2 separate regions of the Homo sapiens genome follow, and region 1 is linked to region 2. The links are contacts of gene promoters, found by promoter capture Hi-C in blood cells and fetal thymus (Javierre and others, 2016). All regions are on one chromosome and are shown on one strand. Each heading gives the region's core, a stretch centred on a gene start or on the middle of the fragment in contact. The rest is flanking DNA. Distances are from core to core; before and after follow the strand shown. Region 1 overlaps LOC105378250 (a long non-coding RNA gene). Region 2 holds the start of HOXC6 (homeobox C6).

The links. Contacts are between HindIII fragments. The CHiCAGO score rates a contact against its expected background, and 5 or more counts as called.
Region 1: a contact is called between a fragment that was not itself captured here and the fragment with the promoter of HOXC6 in region 2, in 2 of 17 cell types (M1 macrophages and M2 macrophages). The highest score is 5.7, in M1 macrophages.

The regions. Positions count from the first base shown.
Region 1 is chr12:53,766,647-53,773,690 of GRCh38, reverse strand. All of the region lies in intron 1 of LOC105378250 (a long non-coding RNA gene), which reads right to left. Among named protein-coding and RNA genes, the nearest start is that of CISTR, 18 kb to the right of the region's middle. The HindIII fragment of the contact is 2,692 bases long and covers 1,510-4,201 here.
Region 2 is chr12:54,023,908-54,030,894 of GRCh38, reverse strand. HOXC6 (homeobox C6) reads right to left here and starts at 2,455. Exons shown (of 2, transcript NM_004503.4): 1 at 1,974-2,455; 2 at 72-1,240. The coding sequence starts at 2,373. The coding sequence ends at 933. It also overlaps a transcript of HOXC4 not described here and a transcript of HOXC5 not described here. The HindIII fragment of the contact is 15,214 bases long and covers 1-5,904 here.

The DNA of each region.
Region 1 (7,044 bases), core at 1,606-4,105, 260 kb after region 2:
CATTAAATACATTCACATGAGGGTCAATCATCGTCACCATCCACCTCCAAACCTTTGCCATCTTACCCAACTAAAACTCTGTGCCCATTAAACATTAAATTCCCATTCCCTCCTGCTCCCATTCCTTAGAAACCACCACTTTACTTTCTGTCTGTATGAATTTGACTATTCTGGGTACCTCATATAAATAGAATCATACAATATTTGTCTGCTTGTGTCTGGCTTATTTTATTTAGCATAACGTCTTCAAGAGTATCCGTGTTGTAGCGTGTATTAGAATTTTCTTCCTTTTTTAGAGTGACTAATATTTCTCTCTATGTATATACCACATTTTGTTTATCTGTTTGTTTGTCTATCTATCAATAGATGCTTGGGTTGCCTCTCCCTTTTGGCTATTCTGAATAATGTTACTATGAACGTGGGTGTACATATATCAATTTGAGTCCCTGCTTTCATTTCTTTTGGATATATTCCCAGAGGTGGAATTTCTGGGTCATATGGTAATTCTAAGTTTACTTTTTTAGGAATCACCAATTTACTGTTTTCCACGGTGGCTGCACCATTTTACTTGCCAACCAGCAGTACACAAAGGTTCCAATTTCTCCACATTCTCGCCAACACTTGCTATTTTCTGTTTTTTTAATAATAGCCATCCTGATGGGTGTGGAATGGCACCTGACCATCTTGGGCTGGCACAGAGTGAGATAGGAAGAAGTAGTCGGGGATGAGGTCAGAGAGAAATCAGGAGGCCGGATCATTCATGGCGGGCCATAGAGTCACTGTGAGGACTTTGACTTTCACACTGGGTATCATGGAAACCCTAGATGAAGTGGCAGTTTTGCATATTGGCTACTGATTGTCATGTTCTTTGAACTAAGTATTTGGTTCTCAAACTATGGAACAGGCCTCCTCCAGAGTTTAAAAATACAGCATAGAAATGGGTTCTGCAGAGTTCTCCACAGACATCTCATGGTTCTGACAAAAAAGTGAGAGCTAAACAAGCTGAGGCCCTCTCCCACCAGCCTCCCTCTCCAGATGCCATATACCCACCCATGGAAGAGTAACATGATGGATTACTTTCATCCAGATTGTTCACTTCATGGATTATCTTTAGCCAGGATTCAATCACTTAAAAAAAATAATAATCTTCGTCTCATTCACTATTTTGGATTATCTCCTCCATTTTTCTTGGTAACCAAGAGCCGATATGGAGATGAAGGATACTTTTTCCCAGAAACTGGTGAAATTAAGGACTGCAAAGACAAAGGCAGGTAGATTCTCAGAAAAGGGGCAGGAGCAATGTGAATCAGGCACTCACCAGCCTTGCAAAATTAAATAGATGAATTCAGTCCCAAGCCCTGGATGCCTCAGCAAGGATTGTCAGAAATGTCTGAGATGATCAGAGCTAGGGAGAGAAAGGGCCCCAAAGGGAAGCCTGAAAACACATTTTTGAGAGGCAGAGAGTACCTCTCATAACCTCACTTCCCCCAGGCAACAGGGATGAAAGCTTCTACATCAAAATGAGAAGTCCAAGGAGTTATAGATTTTCTCAACAATAAATAATCTGGAGAGAATGGCCTCCCAACCACCGTTTATAAATGCTAGAAAATACACACTTGTGTGTGGTGAGGGCAGGGGGGTGGAAAGTGGAGAAAGAGAGAATTATGGAGTTGTCCCCTCTGGGAGAGGAGGAGGGCCAGAAATCAATTTTCACTGTGGCATTCTTAGGATTCAAATGGGGGCTAGGAGAGGGAAGTATGGTCAAATCTGGGAACCTAAATGACTAATTTTTCTCAGTAAGCAAACAGGCCAGGTACTCTAGGATTCTGTGTGTTATTTTTCCTTCCATCTGAGGACCACCTTGTTCATCCCCCTGTCTCTACACAGTATGAACACCACCACCACTCGCCCTGGGTAAACAGAAACTCCGTGGCTTCCCTCAGGCCATAGTCCCTCCCTCATATTCCCTTCTCGGTGGTCTCATTAAAGAAGTCTTGGGTTACCCTTTTCAGCCCAAAGATTTATAATAAAAATGAAACTAGGATTTAGGAGAAGGCTGCTCTTCTCTCTCTCTTCAGGTAGAAAAATAATGGACCTACATGGCAGTGAAAGTTTTAGGTCATTCATTCATTCATTCAATAAGTATTAAGCACCTACTATATGCCAGTCGCTGTGCTTGGTGCTAAGAACACAACAGGCAGGGGAAAGACATGTTCCCTGTCTACGTGGCACTGTCTTTAAAAATGTTCTTATCTAATCCAAAAGTGCCAGAAACGCCTAATCTGAATCTAATGATGAAAATAATCCGTCAAATTTAGACCCAGTGACTTTCTACAAAACAACTGACCAGTACTCTTCAAAACTGTGAATGCTATGAACAACAGGCTAAGGAATGATTCCAGATTAAAGGAGAATAAAGAGGCATGATAACAAAATACAGTGCATAAACTTCAATTGGATCAGGGCTAGGGAGAAACATTTCACTATAAAACAAATTATTCAGCTAGCGCAGTGGCTCACACCTGTAATCCTAGCACTTTGTGAGGCCAAGGAGGGCAGATCACTTGAGCCCAGGAGTCTGAGACCAGCCTAGGCAAGATGGTGAAACCCTGCCTCTATAAAAAAAAAAAAAAAATTAGTCTGGCATGGTGGCATGTGCCAGTAGTCCCAGTTGCTTGGGAGGCTGAGGCAGGAGGTTCACCAGAGCCCAGGAGGTAGAGGCTGCAGTGAGCTGTGATCATGCCACTTGCACTCCAGCCTGGGCAATAGAGTGACACCCTGTCTCAAAAAAAAATCAGTGGACAATTAGCAAAATTTGAATAGGCACTGCTTTACATATGTGTGTATATATACACACATATATATATATGAGAGAGAAGGGGAGAGCACACAAATGTGGCAAAATATTAGCAATTTGTCAATCTTGGTGAAAAATGAATGGGTATTAATTACACTATTTTACAACTTTTCTGTAGGTTAATATTTTTCAAATTAAAAGGTTGGGAGGAAAACAAGAATATTCCAACAGTAAAGGTTATGGATTTTTCTTCTCTGAATAATCTTATAAACAAACTTGCCATCATTTTTTTATTGGAAGGAAATCCTATCCAGATGATCTAGCCCTGAATCAAGAACTCTAGATCAGAGAGGTGGGTGGGAAGATAGAACTCCTTTGTCTCTGATTTACAACCAAAATTGTCAGCAAGTAAAAATGCCTGGAATGAAACCACAACCTTGACTCATGTTAGTATGGTTATAAAAAGTACATACTGTTATTGCCATTTTGTGGGACTAACACAAATTAATAAATCAGAGCTCTAGGCTTGAATGCTAAGAAGCATTGGGGAAGATGTGCAGAGGCTGGAGACAGAGCAAAATATCTGTCAAATGGCATGCCAGGGATAGAATTATGTGCAAGAATTAGAGTTACGTGGAAAGAGGGGTGAAAGGAACCAGAATGTGTTGAGCTGCAAGCAAGGTTCATATGCTATTTCATTTAACCCCTATTTACTCCATGACAGAAGTATTATTCTTTGATCTTGAAGATGAAGAGAGGTTAAATAACTTTTTCAAGATCATATAGCCAGTAAAAAGAAGAGTTAGAATTTGAACATGGTTCTTCATGAAGTCAAAGCCCATGTTCTTCCTACTGTGGCACCCAGTCTCCACAAAGAACAAGGAGTCTAAGGGCATGGCTATTAAAAGAGGATTTGAACCAGTTCTTACCCTTATGCCCAGGTCATCCCCTGCCAATGTCTTCTCTTTCCTCCCACATAGACACTGATAGGCCAGAGCTGGAAGCAGAGAAATCATTAAATCTGAAAGTTCCATCTTAACCATTTCCTGCTAAAATTCTAATCCAATCAGGTGCCAAAATTCTCCAGACAATCTTTTTAGATGCCAAGAAAGGAGATTCCAAAGCATCCCTGTAACTATTCCAATAGTTCATAGACACAATTTTACATCTAATTATAATTCCTACTCCCACAACTTTAACCCATTGGCTTTTGCTTGATTTTTAGTGGAAAATACAGGATAAAAGATCTCTAGATGCCAAACATAAGTAACCCCTCTGAGACTTCTTCCATCACACTGTTCTTTCATCATATTCCAAATCTTGTCTACTCACTACCTCATTCTTGAGAGGAAAAAAACCATCTTCAGTGCAGGTTAGGAAGTGCTAGAGAAGGAAATGAAAGCTTGATTTTCACTGGCCAAAGGAAAATGGGGTGGTGGGAAGGGAAGCGGGTATTTTTTTTTTATGGTAGCCCAATGGCAGGAAAATGGTTGCAATTTCCCTGACAATCTACATACCTCCAGATTTGGCCTTCCCAAACCTCAGCAGTCACCTAAGGATTCCAGATGCTACCAGCACACACCGTTAGGAAACATCTGTCACGAAGAACAGCCCCAACTGGGACAAAGGAGAGTAGGAAGGCAGACGGTGCCAGTTTAATGAGGATGGTTTAACAAAACATCTTTTAAGCTTTCTAATTCACTTGGCCATTTGCTCCCCAGACTTGGCTGCCAATCAGAAGCAGACTGTGGGGGGATGCTTGCCAGAGAATGGCAATCCCTGATCCTTAACTCAGGAGAACCCAGTACCAGAAAAATGTCAGCTTGTCAGTCATTCTAAAATATGATTAACCCCATTCCAGAGCTAACAATTCATGGTGATACTGGGGAGAAGGACTTGAGCTACGTGAGGTTGCTCGGTCTGGTTTGGTTGTTCTTGACAGCCAGAGGCCTTACTTAGCAGAATATCAAAAACAGGTATTAGTGTGCCCCATGTCCATGTCTAGCTCTGAGCTCATGACAACTAGAGCATTTCTAATATTTATTAATCATTCATGGAAATAATCATAAAGACCAATGGATATCCGGCATCAACACTGATCTCTTAGCCTTTCTATTTTTAGATTGCCTCGTTCTTTTTTAAGGTTATTAAAGAATATGAACTTGAGATAAGAAATAATGAGTTTTCTCAACATGCTATCAGTATAGGAAAATCCATGAAGAAGATAAATTACTTTTCCATTTCAGTTTCCAAGGGAAGAAAGCCCCAGATATGGCCAAAGACAAGGGGATTGGCAAAGCAGCCTCAAAGCATCCTTATTTTATTCGGGGGCGTTGCATGAAAATTTGGATTAAACCTAAGGAATCTCAGCTGAAATCACTGGTTTCAGATATATATTTTCCAAGGCCTGAATTCAACCTAGCTGACATGCCATTTTTCCCACCAGAACTCTATCTAGTAGATTCCTACAGTTGGCAAAGACTGCATCCCAGCCTCCTGCTATACTCCCTGATCCACCCTCCTGGCCTTTAACGTTGGTAACTCTAAACAATGAGATCCTCACAGATCTCACTCAGATTCACCCCAGCAACCATCAGAGAGTGCTGCCCTTCTTTTTTTTTTTTTTTTTTTTTTTGAGACGGAGTCTCGCTCTGTCGCCCAGGCCGGACTGCGGACTGCAGTGGCGCAATCTCGGCTCACTGCAAGCTCTGCTTCCCGGGTTCACGCCATTCTCCTGCCTCAGCCTCCCGAGTAGCTGGGACTACAGGCGCCCGCCACCGCGCCCGGCTAATTTTTTGTATTTTTAGTAGAGACGGGGTTTCACCTTGTTAGCCAGGATGGTCTCGATCTTCTGACCTCATGATCCACCCGCCTCGGCCTCCCAAAGTGCTGGGATTACAGGCGTGAGCCACCACGCCCGGCCGAGTGCTGCCCTTCTTTAAAGCAGGCTACAGCCCTAAATCACATTCACCATGATTGCTGCATTGCAGCAGATAACTGAAGTGTGAGTGCCCTCTACCCTCCTTCTGGAAAATGACACGTTCTTCAAGGATTGAAAGCAACACACACACACACACACACACACACACACACACACACCCTACACCTTCTCCCTACCAGACCTGCAGTTTTCTGCTCTCTGTTAAATCCAAACTTTTAAGATTGTATTTCCAGATCTTTCTTTTCATTGTTCCCCTAACCGTTACTCTTATTATTAACCTTTTCTGTGGCTCTTTGCTTGAACAGGACCAATCTTTCCCCATATACGAACATCTTGCTATCATCACCTCAACCATCACATGGACAGTCCCTCTCTGCCTAGAACACCCTTTTTCCAAACTGTTCAACAAGACTCTCCTTCAGGAAGCATATCTAACCACACCTACAGATATCTGACCTCTCTGCTATGCCCTCTTTGCCTGCTCTCGTCCCCTCATTACTGTCCAGAGTTCTGTCCATTTGCTCCTAACTTGTTTCCTTGCTGCACTGCCAGTGTCTGTGCCTTGATTATGTGTCCAGCCTTCTCCATCAGACTGACCTCCTCTGCTCCCCGTTCCTTTGGATTGGTTGGCAGTGAATATGGGTCTCTTGCACAGGAGGTTTTAGGACAGAATGGCATAACTCACTGGCCTAGAACTTTGCACTGGGAAGACGCCTGGTTAGAGAAGAGGGTAGCAGTGGTAGATGGTTAGGTGCAGCGAAGTAGCACAGCTCTTGCCTGATGACACTTTCAGCTTGCCTCTTCTTCCCCAGCTGAAGCCTGAGGTATAGAGTTAACTGGCCACAGCCAAGGAAGCACCCCATGATCTACAGCCCAATGTGGTGACAACAGAGATAATGAAACAAGAATGCAGGTCCAAGTCTCTTCCACACCACAAAGTGAAAATGCAAAGGAAGTAACCCAAACTGGCTGGGACTAAGGACGTTATCTGTGACACTATTGGCTCCAGTGTCATCCCCTTGAAGTCCAATGACCAAATTGACAAACAATACAGTTTTATTACTTTCATTGCTTTAGTTAATTGTGAAAATAAGTCACCTAATACTTTGGCTTTAGGCAACCTGGTGTGATACTCAAACTGCAATAAAGAAATCTCAGCTTAGACTGCAGAAAGGAGGGGTGCTCCAATGATCAAATGGTTGAATATTGTTTAGAATAGGACTTTCATTTGTTTTGGGAGGATGGGGAAGTGTCCATGAAGTACTTTTATATTGTAAGCTCCTAGGAAAGAGAATTTTCTCTGTTT
Region 2 (6,987 bases), core at 1,206-3,705:
GGAGCGCTTGGAGCCTGCTCCAGCTCTCACCCTGAGGCCGGCGGGCGAGCGAATTAACAGAATTCCCGGTATAAAGTTTTAAAAATAATATCAGTTTTATTAAATATTCGAGAACGGACCCAGAGGTTGGATTTATACAGGAGGGTAACACGAAGGGATTTATTTATTTATTTATTTTCTCCTACTGGCTAAACAAACGTCATTCACTTTTTTTCTCTCTTTTTGTAATTTTCCCTCTTTTTTTTCCTTTTTTGAAATTGGATAGGAACACTGACGGTGCTAAACATAAATATAAATACAGAGACCACAAATACAGCTAAAAATCTTCACACAGAAACGGTCACAGTTTGTAAAATGCCATAATGACCCCCAGGATTCTTTAAATACAATTTGCCTGGGCTGGGCATTTGCTGGGGCAGAGGGGCTAGGCAGGGACTGCGGGGAGGCCCTGGGGGTTGGTGTGGGGCCAAGGCGCGCCCTCCTTGGGCCTCCGGCCCTCCCCGGCTGCCAGGCCGGGCCCTGAGGCCCTGGAGCAGAGGCCCCAGCAGGCCCAGGAGCCGGCTCTCTGCACGGGGGGCGGGGGTGGGGGCGTCGAAGGAGTGGGGGAGCCAAGTCCTCACTTGGAGGGCAATCTGTAGAGTCTGAGTTCAGGGTCCGAGCCCCCAAGGCCTGGACGGGGAAAAGGGCCTGTAGACAAGCCGAGAACGAGCTAGCAAGGGAGCGAGGAGGAGGAGGCGCGTGGTGAAAGAGAGTTGTGCGGTGAGGGAGGGGGTCCAGAGCTGACTTTCAGGTCCACGTTTGACTCCCTAATTTTGTTTTAGGGAATCAAAACACATCAATTGTGCCAGTGATAAATACAGAGTGTGTGATTAGGGGAGAGTTGGTGGGGAGCGAGGGAGAAAGGGAGAGAGGGGTGGCAGGGACAGTCCTGGTCACTCTTTCTGCTTCTCCTCTTCTGTCTCTTCCCGCTTTTCCTCTTTTCCGCCCAGGCTGTCGGCGGTGGCCCCTCCGCCGCCCCCCGAGAGAGTGGATGTGAGATTAGATTCTTTTTTCCACTTCATCCGGCGGTTCTGGAACCAGATTTTGATCTGTCGCTCGGTCAGGCAAAGCGCGTTGGCGATCTCGATGCGCCGGCGCCGCGTTAGGTAGCGATTGAAGTGAAATTCCTTCTCCAGTTCCAGGGTCTGGTACCGCGAGTAGATCTGGCGGCCGCGCCTCCGGTCCGCTCCGTAGCCGACCCCTAAAGATCCGGGCACAAAACACACTAAAAGCAATCAGCAAAGCGTCCTCTGCAGACTGTTTCGCCTAGCAAAGTCCTGACCCTCCCAACCTGGCCAGCAGCTCACAGCCTCCTTAGGGCTCTAGCCTTCTCCCTTTTGCCTTGCCCCACCCCCACTGGGGGTACAGCGAGGACCCCAACTTCAGACCTCCTATAAGGTGGGACCTGTGTGTCCCAAAGAAAGGTGTGTGGTGGGGGGGGGGGCGGGGGGGCGGGGCAAAAGGCAAACAGAAAGCTGCAAGTCTAAAAGCAGATTTTTGAAAAATCCCAGATAATGGGGATGAGGGCCCCCTTTCTCAAGGACTGGGCTCCCCCATCTCCCCAAGCATCCTAGTTCCTTGGAAACTTCTCCCCACTTATCTGCCTCTCCTCTCCCCCTCCCTTCTCCTCAGACTGACTCCACTTTGGGGGGCTCCCCTATCTTCTGCTCCCTCCCCTCATCCCCTGCCCTGTTCCTGCCCCCTCAGCCCGCCTTGGGGCCCTCCAATCCGTCAGGGGCCAAGGGGGCCAGGCCCCTGCAAGCGAGCGAGAGGCGAGCTGAGGGGGCAGAAGAGGGGGCCCTGTCTCGGTGAGGAGACGAGCGTGATTGTTTTTATGGGGCCATAAAAAACTCTCTCCGCCCGTTCTTCTAGGGAAGCCGGTCATAAAGCCAGTTCAGTTTATTTAATTTATATCTCGGAGCTGTAAAACTCACCACTGTGCGAATTCATTCGCTGCATCCAGGGGTAAATCTGGATACTGGCTTTCTGGTCCTGGGGCGCAGTCCTGCCCTGCTCAGAACTAAAATCCTGAGCGATTGAGGTCTGTGTGTTATGTCCTAAGGTGTTTTGTCTGCAGTTTGAGAGCATGTCTTTCTCCTGGTAAAAGGAATTAGATCCATAGTCATACGGCCCCCGGCTGGAACTGAACACGACATTCTCCTGTGGCGAATAAAAGGGAGTCGAGTAGATCCGGTTCTGGGCAACGGCCGCTCCATAGGTCGAGAAATGCCTCACTGGATCATAGGCGGTGGAATTGAGGGCGACGTTGGGGAGGACGTCCTGGCCCCCGGCGAGGTGGCAGGATAAGGAAGGGTTAGTGAAGTAGGAATTCATCCCTTTGCCTTTACCTGGTCGGTCTATGATTTCTTTAATATTTATTTCTGTCTCCAGTTTGTACTCGGAACTAGATGGTTATAGGGACGGCTCCAATCCAGGACAGACAAAATGACAAAGTCAGCTGACCCCCTCCCAGCCAATCGCAAGCCAGATGTCAGGAAGGGGGAAAAAAATCGCTTCTGCTTCTGTTGATTCCCTAGTTGAGACTAAGTGTGTGCTTTGAAAGTAAGACTTGGATTTCTTTTAAAAAATATATATATATATATATATATGTAAGGGAACTGGTTTGGTGGTGAAGGAGGGGTGCATGTCCCTGAGCAGGGCCTTGGGACTCAGGGAAGGAGAGCTGTACTACCAGGAAATCTCTCAGCCCCAGCTAACTTTGCTGTGCTGTGGCCAGAGCCAGGGCTAGAGAAACCCCTGTATTTTCAATCTGGTTTCATGTTTTATATCTGCCCCCTTCTAAAATTACATCCTGATTTCTCCAAGGGAAGAACTCCCTCCCAGCACAGGAGGGGGGTCCCTAGAAATCCTGCAGGAAATCCTGTTTTGACACTCCATGGAGTGAGTCCCATCACTAAACTAGTATTTTTTTCACCAATAATTAAAAAAAAATCAAAAGTAGAAAGAAATTTCATAAAACCTGTTCCCCTGAGTAAGTAGAGTGTGGCTGAGAGTCTTGAATGTAGTAGGGATGTGGGGAACAACTAGGTCTAAAGGGGCAAGACTTCAGGGTACAGTGGCAGAGCTGGAGTGGGCAAATGGGCCACGCATCTGCTCTCCTTTGCCTCCTGGCTCCCTTCTGCCTCCTTCTCAGGACCCCTCTGTTGGGAAAACTCTTCCAGCATTTTTGCCTAAAAGGGAAAATGTATAAAAAATGCAATAGAAAAAGGAGAAAAAGAAGTAAAATGTAGGGAGGTGGCACCGGAGGGGGAAAGACAGAGAGAAAGAGAGAGAGAGGAAGAACGAAAACTCTGAGAATCTTTCTAGAGACATCAACTCCTGTTTATGTTGGTGAGAATTTATTATTTGGAGCCAGTGAGGGCCTGTGGGGTAATTCACATAGGATCCAGCCAGAAAGAGAAGGCTGGTGGGGCTCTGATGGACAGTTAGCTTCCTGCAGGCTCAAGCCCCTGCCTTGGTCAGAAGCCCCCCTGCCCCCTCCAGACTCAGGGCACCGCCAGTGGAGGCGCCCCTGGACCTGAGCTATGAGGCTTGGAGACTTCAGAAAGGGGTTCTAAGGAGCTCTCACCCAAGTGCCAGTCACCCGTGGTGGGGATGGGCCTCTCAGCAACCTCAACGCCCATTTTATTCCCCCATCTTGGGGCTAAAAAAAGGGAAGAGACGGTTACGAAAAGGCAGCTGAATCCGAGGCTTGTGAGGGAGCCGCAGTAGGCGAACTGAAACAGCGGAAAGTGTGCAGATGGGGGTTTTCTCCTGATTAGTCCAAACTTAATTTGATATCGTGATATAGGCTGAAAATGCCTTGAGTTGACAAAGAAGGGTGGTGGGGAGTGTGCGGGGAGCAGAGAAAGCTCATATCCCCCCCCCCCCACCATTTTTGGGTGGGTTGGGGGGGGGGAAAGCTGGCTATAACAAGAACCCGGATGTCGCCGGATTTTATGATCTTTTCCTTCTGTGTAACAAAGCGGAGTAATCAATGGGTAGCAATAAAGCCATAAACGGGACTATGCTGAGAAAAAACTCGTTTATTCATCTTCTGTAACGTTAAGGTTTCCCTGGAGTGTCGCTAGGGGGGAAAAATAAAGTTTCGAACCCAAAAGCAGACAGTGTGCAGGAGCTGGTGGAGACAACATGTTAGTTAATACATGAACCTCGTTAGGGGGTTGAAGAGTCTTCCTGCCAGACAATTTGTGTTGGTTTTAGAAAATACAGCCCCAATCCTCCAGAAAGGACAGAAATTTGTCGGTATTTGGAAGGGAAGGGGAAAGACTCCTATAATTATAAAGGTTCCTCCTTCTAGATCACACTTTCTTCTCCCCAAGGAAATGAAGGGGAAAGGGTAGAGGAGGATTTTTAAATTAAGAAAAAAAATTTTAGATGAGTTATCTCATTTTTGGGGTGACTTGGCAGGTACACAAACATAGACACCAATGTGAGTTGCTTTTTGCCCTAGAATCCAGCTGTCCTCGAATTCATGGCATGCCTGAGCAGAGGTTTCCAACAGCTGGCTGAGGCTTCAGGCCCCCTGGAGGGCAAGAGGTGGGGGAGAGACAACAAGGCAGGAGTACTCTGGGGACTGAGCTAGGGAACAAGTCAGTGCACCCCTGGACACAAGTAGCCTCTCTCAGAGTTCCCAGCCTCCTTTCTGCCCTAAGGGTAGTGGTGTAACAAGTAGAAGAGGCCGGAAGAGAGAGTAACTCTGTCCCCCCCTCCAATTTCAGAGAGAGATTGCTAGAGGGATAAATCATGTCAGTGATATTTCCTTCAAGATATTAAATTGTTGCAATGTACAACAAATTGAATGATGGAAGATAGGATGTCTTAATGAGGTTTCACTTTCAATGAGTGTTGATTTTCTATGTATTTAAAAATCTCTTTTATGTCTGGGTGGGGGAGGGAAGGACCTTGGAAGAAAGAAGGGGCTTCTGGGGCAGCATGGACTACAGCCCCCAGCAAGGATGCCTAGGTTTCCTTGAGCCCCTCCTCAACCATGTCTGGAGAGGAAAGGGGCCCCAAAGTTGGGGAGATTCTCTATTGGGGCCTAAAGTCGGTGGGCTCAGGGAGGTTGGCGACCTGAGAGGCAGAATGTGAGCCTCAGCCCCAGAAAGTTAAGTGTTTTATGACGTCCCTAAACAGAGGGCAGAGACTGAAAGGTCTCGCCGATTTATAATGAACAGAAACCAGCTGCTGGGTGAAAAAGGCAGAAATGCTGGAAGGGGGAGAGAAGGGGAAACAGAAATACAAATAAATTCCTCCACTGCTTAAAGACCTTTGGCAAAATTAATTTTCAACACCTCCCCCCCCCCCAATTACCTTTCATTCCTGAGGAAAGAAGAAGCCCTCTTCTTTCTCTTAGATCTTTAATTATGCAGCTGAAATTTGCTGAAAGGATTCGCTCCAAGGGGGGAGAGCAGGTCAGATGAGCCCGATCTTCCCTACATTGGATTATATTTTCTTTTTCCCATTTCATGTTAATTTTATTTTTTTGGCAAAAGAATGGCTGTCTATAGGGGGAAAGCTGGGACTTAGATTTTTCTAAATATATTTATATTTTCCTGTTAAATTTGTCTGAAAACAATTATGGAAACTCATCAGCAGAAGCAAGAACAGATGTTTTATTAAAACTGCAGTTGTGCTCTGTAAATATGCACAAGTCTTGGGAAGGAGGGGAGAGAACTTGTTCTTTGTTTCTATAAAACGAGCCTAAAGAAATCAGAGAACACTACCCCCCAACCCCATCAGGCTTGCAGGTCTCCTTGCTACTGCTCTGGCCCCTTAGCCTCCCAAATCAGGCATTCGGAAGGGGCTTGGTGTCAAGAGCAGATTTTCACTTTCAGAGAAGCTTTAATTAGTGGATTCAAAAACAGAATTCAAAAAACACAGAAAAAGAATACAAGGGAAAAATTGCCACTTGCTTCTCCAGTCCTCTCCAATGCAAAACACATGCTTTTGATAGCGCTAATTATAGGAGAGAAATTTACTGCCTGCGCCTTGGACCTGAGTGGGGTGCAGTCACTGGCCTGGAGTCCCCAAGGATAAGGGTGGCATTGCAGCCTGGGCACTTGGGGATTTCCCTAGGCAAGTTAAATGCTACCACTCCAGCCTTACTCCCCTTTAGGCCAGGGAAAGGCTGGGGGCATGTGAGCTCTGAACTGGGGAAAGGGTGGGTGGGACTGGACCCAGCCTGAAGAAGTTCGTGGGCAGGCCTCACCTTGCTGGCCTTTGCTTTCCACTCAGCTCTGGGAAATATATTAATTTCCTGGGGAGGGATATTTGAAGTGAGAGGGATGAGATCTGGAATTTTTATTTGGGGACAATATTTTCCAGAGGTCCTCCTTAGTTGTGTTCTCCCTGTCTCCTCTCTCTCCCCAGATCCCCTAACTCTGCGCGGATGTTTGTAACTCACCAACCCTCGCACACAGATACACATACTCCATTCCTGACTGCCGCGCTGCAACTACAGCTCGGTGCCTCCTGAGGCTGCTCGGGGACCCAAGCACTGGAGCCTCAGGACTCAGTGCTCAGCCTCAGCGCCTGGCCTGGGTGCTCAGCTGCCTGGACGCGACCGCAGCTGCCCGACCCTGCCCCCACCACCCCCAAGTCTCACTTTTCTGAGCAAGAGAAGAACGGTTGCCCCGCTGGCCCCTTTTGTGCCACTGGGCGAGGGCTAAAATCCCTCTTACGGAGAAAGCCGAGTTTCAGTAATTGCTCAGCTCCCCTCATAATCACACTATTTGGTTAAGGCTTTGCTGTTCTGGAGCGACTGCTCAGTTGGCCCGATTGGTCTATGATTAGACTTTTTTATTTAGAAATTAAAAAATAAATTCTACTCCAAATGCCTGGTGTTTTGTGTATAAATAAGCTCCTTTGATCTCCATGGAACTCCTAGTCAAAGGATCAGATCGCAAAGAGCCTCCTGGTCTGCCA